Regions from separate parts of the Homo sapiens genome. Here regions 1 and 2 are each linked to region 3. The links are contacts of gene promoters, found by promoter capture Hi-C in blood cells and fetal thymus (Javierre and others, 2016). All regions are on one chromosome and are shown on one strand. The core of a region is centred on a gene start or on the middle of the fragment in contact, and the rest is flanking DNA. Distances in the headings are between cores, read along the strand shown.

Region 1 (2,935 bases), core at 293-2,792, about 28 Mb before region 3:
CTAGGCAAGGAGAGGATGTTTAACTGACATTCATATTGATATAGATATAATGGGCACTGTCAATGACAACGAGTAATGATGATTTCTTAGGAAAGCATGTTCAGAGTTTTGCACATCACTGATTATCCCATTTTTATCTATTACACTTTTTGAAAAGAAAGACCCATTCTCTTAAATTGCCTAGTTAGAAAGTACTCTTTATGCAATAATGTTAATCTATCTTGATTTCTAAATATTTTAATAATGTCCTTTTTAAATTTTCTGCACAATATGATATTTTTGTTTTTTTGAACCACAGCCACTCCACCCTCACCCACACCCAGGATCAGAGATTAAAGCAAATGATTCTTTACACTCTCTCAAAAATAAATCCAGACTTTGGAAAATTACACAGTAATGTACAAGCATATAAAAACTCAAGGTCAGAAGTAATTTCAATAATTGCAGGGAGCTCTCTGGAGGTATCTGCCTGTAATTTAACAACCAACTATGGATGTAAACCGAGACAGTGATACTATCGTTATGCACCACGAAATTTTCCTAAGAGCTTTGATCAGATTCCCCTAAATAGTTTATGCATGTCTCTGTATGCAATCATAGGCGCTGACCTGGAATAATTAAAATGAAAATAATCAGTGCTGTATCTGTCTTAACATATACAAATTCGGTTTATCAATGTGAAAGCAGATCTGCAAAACTCAGTTGTCAAAAGGTGGCCTACGGTATTTTCATGACAGAGAATCTTTGTTAGGTTTGTTAATGTAACATGTGCAATGGAGGCTGGTGTATGTAATTAGTTTCCTCCTCAGAGAGATACTAGGAAGGTGGACGACAGTACCCCGGGAACTCACACGTCGGTCTAGGGCCCTTTTTGTCCCCCACCCTCACCTCACTCCTCAGACATGCACTCTCCCATCACATTTGAAGCCCCGGTGGGCAGTTTTCTAGGGTCGTTTCACTGGAGCGTTAAATGGCATCTGACGCCACCGGGCAGCCTGGGGTTGGATGCCATAGCCGCCAGCACCCACGGCTCACCTCCAGCTTGTGGTTGATTTGAGACACAGACTGGGCTTTGTGGCAAAGCTGTGCAAAGCAGGAGCTCAGGCTGGTCATCTTCTGTCGCCCCTCATAAGTGATGTCCGCTTGGTCTGGATCGATCTCTCCCAGGAGCAGATCCACATCCACAAAAGCTTTGTCGAACTCCTTCTCCAGCACCTCCAGCCACCGGAACATGGATACCCCGCCAGGGGCCCCCACGGAGCAGGAGGCGCCCCCTGGGCCCCCTCCGGCTGCTGCTGGGCATGGACCGCCCGCCGACATGGCGCCGTCAAGGGCCTCTCCCGACTGCTGAAGACCCTCGCCGCCCCCCGCGCACGAAGGGAACTGCTGGGACTGAGGGGACCCCCGCGCGCGCGGGCACACTCCGTCACCTCCCTTCACCTCGCGCCGTTAACGCCAGCAGCACAGTCACAGAACCGCAGGAGTAACGAGGCTGAAGCTGAGGCGGCAACGGCGGCGACACACGGAAGACTCAGTCAGTCCCACCTCCCAGCCTGCCCCCGCTGCGCATGCGTAGCGAAGAGCTGGGCGGACGCAGCCACGAGGGACAAAATAGGCGGGGACAGGATGCGATCTTGGCCTATGAAAGGCCTCAGCTTGGGAGCGGCCTGTCAGCGGCCATATTAACAACTGGCAAACTACGGCTTGAATCCCTGAGAAACGGAGGCGCGTGGTTTCTGCACCCTGGTTGGAAAGGCCCGAGGATGAGAAAGGTGTCCACGTCGCAGAAAGGAAGGATTTCCGCCGGTTTGACTTAACAGTTGGCGGGAGCCGTTCCAAAATCCTCCCAGAAAGTTGCTGCGGTGGCATCTAGGGTCAGGGAGGGGAGAGCAAGGAAGGGCGGTGTGAGCATGCGCAATAGCCACGTTTTTACCTTCTCGATTCCAGTTCCTGGATAGGATGGAGTGGGTGTACACACTGGCTGTTCTTGGTAAACCAGACCCCAAATTCCAGGTGTGGACTGCCTAAAGCTGCGCATTGAAGCGGCTGACCAGATTTTGCGGAATTAATAGAAGACTTTTTGTCTTGTGATTAAGAGTCAGGTAGACCTGGATTCAATTCTTACCCTCTGTCACATACTACCTGTGTCGCCTTTCATGTATTAACCTCGAAACCAAGTTTCCAAATTTTACTTAACTCAGTTGTAAGGTAAAACGCTTAGCGTCACTTCTTGGCACACGGTATTCCTCTTAATACACCATAGGTCACACATTTCAAAAGCAACTACAGTAGTGCTTCACTTAAGATGGGGATATGTTCTTAGGAATGTGTCCTTAGGTTAATCATCCCTTAGGGAACATCCTAGAGTGTATTTAAACACAAACCTAGATAGTATAGCCTACTACACACCCAGGCTATATGATGTAGCCTATTGCTCTTAGGCTGTAAACCTGTACAGCATGTTGCCATTCTGGATACGGTAGGCGATTATAACACAGTGGTAACTATTTGTGTACTTAAACATATCTAAACATAGAAAAGGTACAGTCATATACTCTTATAGGATCACCATAGTTTATGCGATCCATTCATTGCTGAAGCCTTGTTATTTGGCACATAACTGTACTTTAAAAGGTGTATTTATTTGAAAACTGGTAGTGTCCTCACACGTGACATTTCAGAAAATCAAAATTGTGAATTCATATATTTACAAATATATTGAATGCAGAGCTCTGTTGCGACATTGAAGACACAAAAATGAATGAGACATGACCCTTACTCAAGATAGGCTAGTGAGGCTACTACCCCTCAACTATAACTTTAACTTGAATTTTTCAGTGCCTTTAAAAGTATCCAGCAACTCCTCTCTTTACATTCTGCCTACTTCCAGTTCAAGGGTAGACAGTCCTAGAAAGGGAAAGAGAAACCTGTGTGA
Region 2 (2,726 bases), core at 136-2,635, about 60 Mb before region 3:
GGGATAAGATCATCACAGATAAGACCAAGGACACAATATTCACTGATCTCTAAGCAAACAGAAAAACTCCACTTACAGAAATCGTTGCAACTTTGGAACTTCCAAGACAATCTGGCCTCTATCAATGGGCAGACAGCGACCCTCACTGTTGGCAGAAAAAAAAAAAACCCAGGATTTTATAACACAACTGTTATAAAATCACGGCAACAAAATTTACTCCACCTCTGAATTACTGGTCTTAATCTCAGAAGCCGAATCCGTACTTATTTTTCTTCAGGTTATCAGCTTCGGGATAGGTTTCATCATTGATTAGACCAATCAGACCTTGTATATGTACACATAATACATTAAACTGCACTTCTGTGACACTGACTACAAACCAAGGTAATGCTAAAAGGCAAGTATTATAGTACAAATACTACAGAACTTTTAAGCCATACAACCTACTTCAAAATGAAGCTGCTAGTCAGTCACATTCGACATTCATTATCTTCACTGGCTACTCGTCCACACTCAGAACGCTGTTCACTGACAAAAAAAATTTGATTTAGTCTAGGTGTGGATTAAATGCTATGCTCAATCATAAAGTACTAAAACAACACATACCTGTTAAAAGTGTCAGGTTTTAACCAAGCGATTTTCCATTAAATATTCTCCCAGATGTTCTGGAAGTTTTTTCGTGTATCTAACAAAAAAAAGTAAATTTCAAACGATGCAACAGTTCCTATTCCTGTAAATCAACAGGTTTACTCCTTTAGTTTGGAAACTAAGCTTAACTAAGCTCTTACCTTTGCATCTTCAGAGCTGCTCCACTGTGCCACTGAAGACAGCGCCATTGTTCCTGCGGGAAATCGGTATTTAAGCATTCTCGCAGAAATGTCACACTCCAAGGCGTTTTTCCACACAAAACCCTTCCCCTTCATTAATCCGAATTGCACACAACGCCGCCTTCGAACAGCTCAGTTTCAATACAGGGTCGAGGCTTCCCATTTTAAAACAACGCCGACGGAAGGCCTTCGCCATTTTAGTAAAGGCCCTTTGCTGTTAAAACTAACCCTCCGCCCCAATTAAGGTGGTTTTTCCGCCGCCGCTCAGGCACATGCCGGAGGCCAGCAAGTTCGGCGCCCGTGGCCGATCAGCGGTTCCTCACGCCAAAACTCGGAGCCTGTGGCCGTCACGACTCAACCTCAGTACATGTGGCAGTCCGGCCGCACGTTTCCCACGTGCAAGCTTTCAACTCTCAGCACTCTAAACTCTTCACTAAGATGTCTTCACAGGATTAAAGCTCTTAACTCGGCCTGCGCCACCATCTTTTGCTCGGATACTAGCCCGCAATACCCACTCACCTACCACCCGCCCAGACGCTCGCGAAGGCCGACGTAAAAGACCGAAGTGCGCAGCCAGTAGCTCCTTATATAGCCTCCCGGAGTCAGAACGAGGCCGTCCCGCCCTCTCGCACCTATTGGACATGGAAGTAGACAGGGGTGTGGTCGCGAATTAGCGGGAGCGCGCGCGGTGGCTCTTCTGAGGCCCGTTCCGCGTTGTGGAGCGCGCCGCAGGCCGGCCGCGCGCCCGGCCATTTCCCGGCGCGCGCCCGCAGGCGCACTGCGAAGCGTCTCTTACGAGTCTGGCGGCCGACTTGGCCCTACGTGGCGCGGGTGTGGCGCCAGAATTCAAACAGCTGCAGTTGGAAACGACGCTTTCGCCTGCCACGAGCCAAGTCCGTCCAGGACAGATTGGGTCCGAGAGTGGACACAAGTTTTGCAGCGCAGGGCGGCCTCAGCTTAGGACCGATTCGAGAAGCTGGGCTGGCTGGCTGGCTGGCGCTGGGCTGTAGTGGGCCCCCAGCGGAGGCCGCCGGAGGAGCGGGCGAGCCCTGGCCGCAGCACTCCGGGAAAGGGCAGTTGGCTGGCAGAAACGCTTGGGTGAAAAAGCGGAAAGCGCCACGTGAGAACAGCCCCGGCGTGCGGCCCTGCAGGGCCTCAGGGCGGGCATCAAGGCCCCATGGGGATCCATTCCTCCTCACGCTTCCTCGTGCCAGGCATCCGGTTACACTAAACGTGACCATACAAGTCTCCCTCAAACAGCGAACGTGAGGTTCAATACTCCATTTCGCAGAGGAGAAAACTGAGGCTTAAAACAGCCAGGTAATTTGCCTAAGGTCACACAGCTGAAATGCTTTGCTAATTTTTAACTTCTTTGTACTCAATTAGTTATATTGAAAACGAGAGAAAGATTAATTTGAGAAGTATCCCTGAATACTTTATCCAGACGACAAACACAAAATTCAAAAGCAGTGCTTTGATTAATTAGCATGTTCGAGTGAATATGTCTGCGTGTGTGTGTGTGCACACGACATTTGAACATTTCAGTATTTGAAAATTCAGGTCGTTCTTCACTTCTATATTTCAAAGCACTACTTATTAAAGTTGTTTATGTGTGCATTTGATTACGGTCCGATTCTGCTAGAGTGTGGGAGCAACACATCTGATTTCGTGCTCTGCTGTTTATTTTTTCTTAGAACAGTGCCTAGCATTAAGTAGGTTGTCGGTAATGGTTAAATGAATGAATGAATGAACAAATACATTCGGTGGCTTTTTAGAAAATTAGAATGAAGATCAAACTTCACATTCAAAGATAGTAGTGAAAAGCACTTTTCTCTAACAGGAACCTATATGATGAAGTATTGACTGGGCCGGGCATTTTGTCGGTTTTTGTATTACTTT
Region 3 (2,707 bases), core at 134-2,633:
CTAAACTCTTAATAATAAAAGTTTTGTTTTAATAATTCTGTAAGTCCAGCTCCTTTCGGGTGGACAAAGAGGATATACAAGAGCATCTCTCAAAAGTAAACTATTTTATTCTCAATTGCCAGCTTACTGGTTAACTGGTCCTTTAAAGCTCTAGAAAGTGCAGGTTATCGAGCACAGACATAATCATTACAATACTGCTCAGGACTGCTCTGTCTCCAGCATGTTTACTAATCATAAACTAAATAGTCTTTTTTGTGACAGTAGAGATATCATGGATCGTTTCTATTCAAGAGTTTCATCATTCCTACTAATGCCCACTGGAATAATTTAAAGTAACAGTAATAACTTTATCTTATTTTGTTCAGAAAAAGCCCCAAGTTCCTTAAGTTCCTTAAGTACAAGTTGGAAGGCATCAAACATCTCGGATTTCTACCTCGTGCTAATGTCAAACTACTTGGAAAAAGGGCACAAGCTTCCTGGTCATTATTTAACTGATCATTATACAGTGACTATTAATCATCAAATAACACCCTATCTTCGTTCATAAACATAGCAACTACCAGTCAAACTGTACAATGTCAAAGAGTGGTTCTGAATTCGAATGTAATTAATCTGGCTCCAAAGGTAACGGAGAACTTTGAGTGGGACTGAGAAACCTCTGCCTCCCCTTTTACTAATACAATGCCGCGCACAAAGAAGGGAGGCGGCGACCCAGTTCCAGCCTCCGGGGGTAGATCTGCGGCGCACGGTACCCACTCAGTTATCTTCCGAAAGACCCACAAGCGGCTCCCGGAGTCTGAGCGGGGCTGTCAGCGCCGGATCGCTCCCAGCAGGCCGAGCAAACAAGCGACCGCGAGGCCAAGGAGCGTGACGACGGACTCCCGGATCCTAGTGTGTTGGACGCTCGAGACAAACACCGCAGGCCCCAGTGCATGAGGAGAAGCACAGCCTCCTTTCCCACGACCCCACTTTATCCCCGGAGGGACGTGGTGGTCCGAAGTTCGCTAGTCCGGGATCGGGAAGAGGTGGGGAAGACTCGCGCAGCGGCTCCCTCTCAGCCCTTGAGCTTCCCGGGCTCCAGGACAACCAGCGTCCTCCCTCCCTGGTCCCGGAGGCCAAAGACCACCTCCCTCCCTCCCTCCCGACCTCTGACCCCTGACCTTCCATCACCCAAGCGCCTACCCAAGCTGGTTCTCCGAGCCTCTTGAGTCTGTTTGCACCAGGCCTGCGCTCCTCTACAGACCCAGCAGATCACGGGCACGCATTCGCCACCCACCGAACATGGGCTTGAGGTGGGCACGAGCGCTTTTTGCCGGAACGTGTAGGGGTCCCCCGGGAGACCCAGAAACCACAGCGCCTAGCTGCCGGGCGCGCGCTGTAGCGTGGGGTCAAGGCGAACGCGCTCGTCAGAGCACCCCGCCCCCTTTCTCCTGCGCTGGCTTCATGAGTCTCTTCTGCGCAAGTTCACACTGTTAAAAACTTGCTGAGGATACAGTGGAGTCTCGCGATAGCTCTGCCCCACGCCATTAGAGAACACAGGATGGCCGAATGCCCGAAGTAGGGGGCGGGGCTCCCCTTGAAGCGAAGGGCGTGTGTGATTTGTATCTCTAATAAAAAGGCAGGGGCCAGGAGCGGTGGCTCACGCCTGTAATCCCACCACTTTGGGAGGCCGAGGCGGGCGGATTTCCTGAGGTCAGGAGTTGGAGAACAGCCTGGCCAAGATAGCGAAACCCCGTCTCTACTAAAAATACAAAAATTAGCCGGGCGTTGTGGTGCGCGCCTGTAGTACCCGCCTGTAGTCCCAGCTGCTCGGGAGGCTGAAGCAGGAGAATGCTTGAACCTGCGAGGCAGAGATTGAGTAAGCCGACATCTCCCCACTGGGTGATAGAATGAGACTCCGTCTCACAAAAGAAAAGCAGAAAAGAATTCTGCAAAAGCATCTATTTTACTGCTATAAAGCAGCCACTAAGTAGGTACGAATAAAGCTTCTCCCCCTCAAAAACAGACTTTAAAGGGAAATGTGAATAAATATTCAAAGATGAGAGAAACTATTAAATACATGTGTTGCGCTGAAGCTGGCCTTCCACTATTGGTCTTTTTTCCTCTCACCTCTTCCTCATAGAAGTGACCTTAATGTTGGAATAACTCTGAGAGGCTTCAGGGTCAGGAGCCTGTGAAATAACCCTCAGGAAACACTGGGGACTCAGTACTTAGTTAGTGAGTACCTAATAGCAGCTTTTCTGCTGTGGAGGCCTTTTGGGTTGTGTGACCACAGAAGCACTTGAACTAAGTTCTTGTCCAAGTGAATATCGGTTGTAGTTGTGTTAGACAGTCCAGGGTAGTCCATATTTTACTTAGTATATTCCTTTATCACAGATACGAAGCTGTTTCCATAAGCAAATCCCCGCCTCCTTTTATTTTGCTTCCCTTTATTGTACTTTGCAGATAATATGTTTTCCTATAAATTGAAGTTTTTTGGCAACCTTACTCAAGCAAGTCTGTCAGCATCATTTTTCAAGCAGCATGTGTTCACTTGCTGTTCATCTGTTATGGTGATCTATGATTAGTTATCTTTGATGTTACTATTGTAGTTTTTTGGGAGCATTACAAACTCTGCTCATAGAAGATGCTAAACTTAATAAATGTTGTGTGTGTTCTGAAAGCTTCACTATTGGCGCCTGTCTCTCTTCCTCTCTTCAGGCCTCCC

What was found. Contacts are between HindIII fragments. The CHiCAGO score rates a contact against its expected background, and 5 or more counts as called.
Region 1: the fragment with the promoter of GOPC here is called in contact with the fragment with the promoter of SHPRH in region 3 in 4 of 17 cell types (total B cells, activated CD4 T cells, total CD4 T cells and 1 more); the score reaches 14.6 in total B cells.
Region 2: a contact is called between the fragment with the promoter of SNHG5 here and the fragment with the promoter of SHPRH in region 3, in 1 of 17 cell types (naive B cells). The highest score is 7.7, in naive B cells.

Annotation. Positions count from the first base shown.
Region 1 is chr6:117,600,969-117,603,903 of GRCh38, forward strand. It overlaps GOPC (golgi associated PDZ and coiled-coil motif containing), which reads right to left and starts at 1,543. Exons shown (of 9, transcript NM_020399.4): 1 at 1,036-1,543. The coding sequence starts at 1,320. It also overlaps the pseudogene NEPNP. RefSeq lists enhancers at 1,425-1,514, 1,645-1,934. The HindIII fragment of the contact is 3,398 bases long and covers 1,189-2,935 here.
Region 2 is chr6:85,677,348-85,680,073 of GRCh38, forward strand. It overlaps SNHG5 (small nucleolar RNA host gene 5), which reads right to left and starts at 1,386. Exons shown (of 6, transcript NR_003038.2): 1 at 1,347-1,386; 2 at 789-841; 3 at 607-685; 4 at 448-528; 5 at 77-145. It overlaps SNORD50B (small nucleolar RNA, C/D box 50B), which reads right to left and starts at 312; the gene lies at 242-312. SNORD50A (small nucleolar RNA, C/D box 50A) reads right to left here and starts at 21; the gene lies at 1-21. RefSeq lists enhancers at 967-1,026, 1,197-1,356. The HindIII fragment of the contact is 13,479 bases long and covers 1,229-2,726 here.
Region 3 is chr6:145,962,975-145,965,681 of GRCh38, forward strand. It overlaps SHPRH (SNF2 histone linker PHD RING helicase), which reads right to left and starts at 1,384. Exons shown (of 30, transcript NM_001042683.3): 1 at 757-1,384. RefSeq lists enhancers at 901-1,030, 1,141-1,360, 1,272-2,259, 1,811-1,860. The HindIII fragment of the contact is 1,513 bases long and covers 471-1,983 here.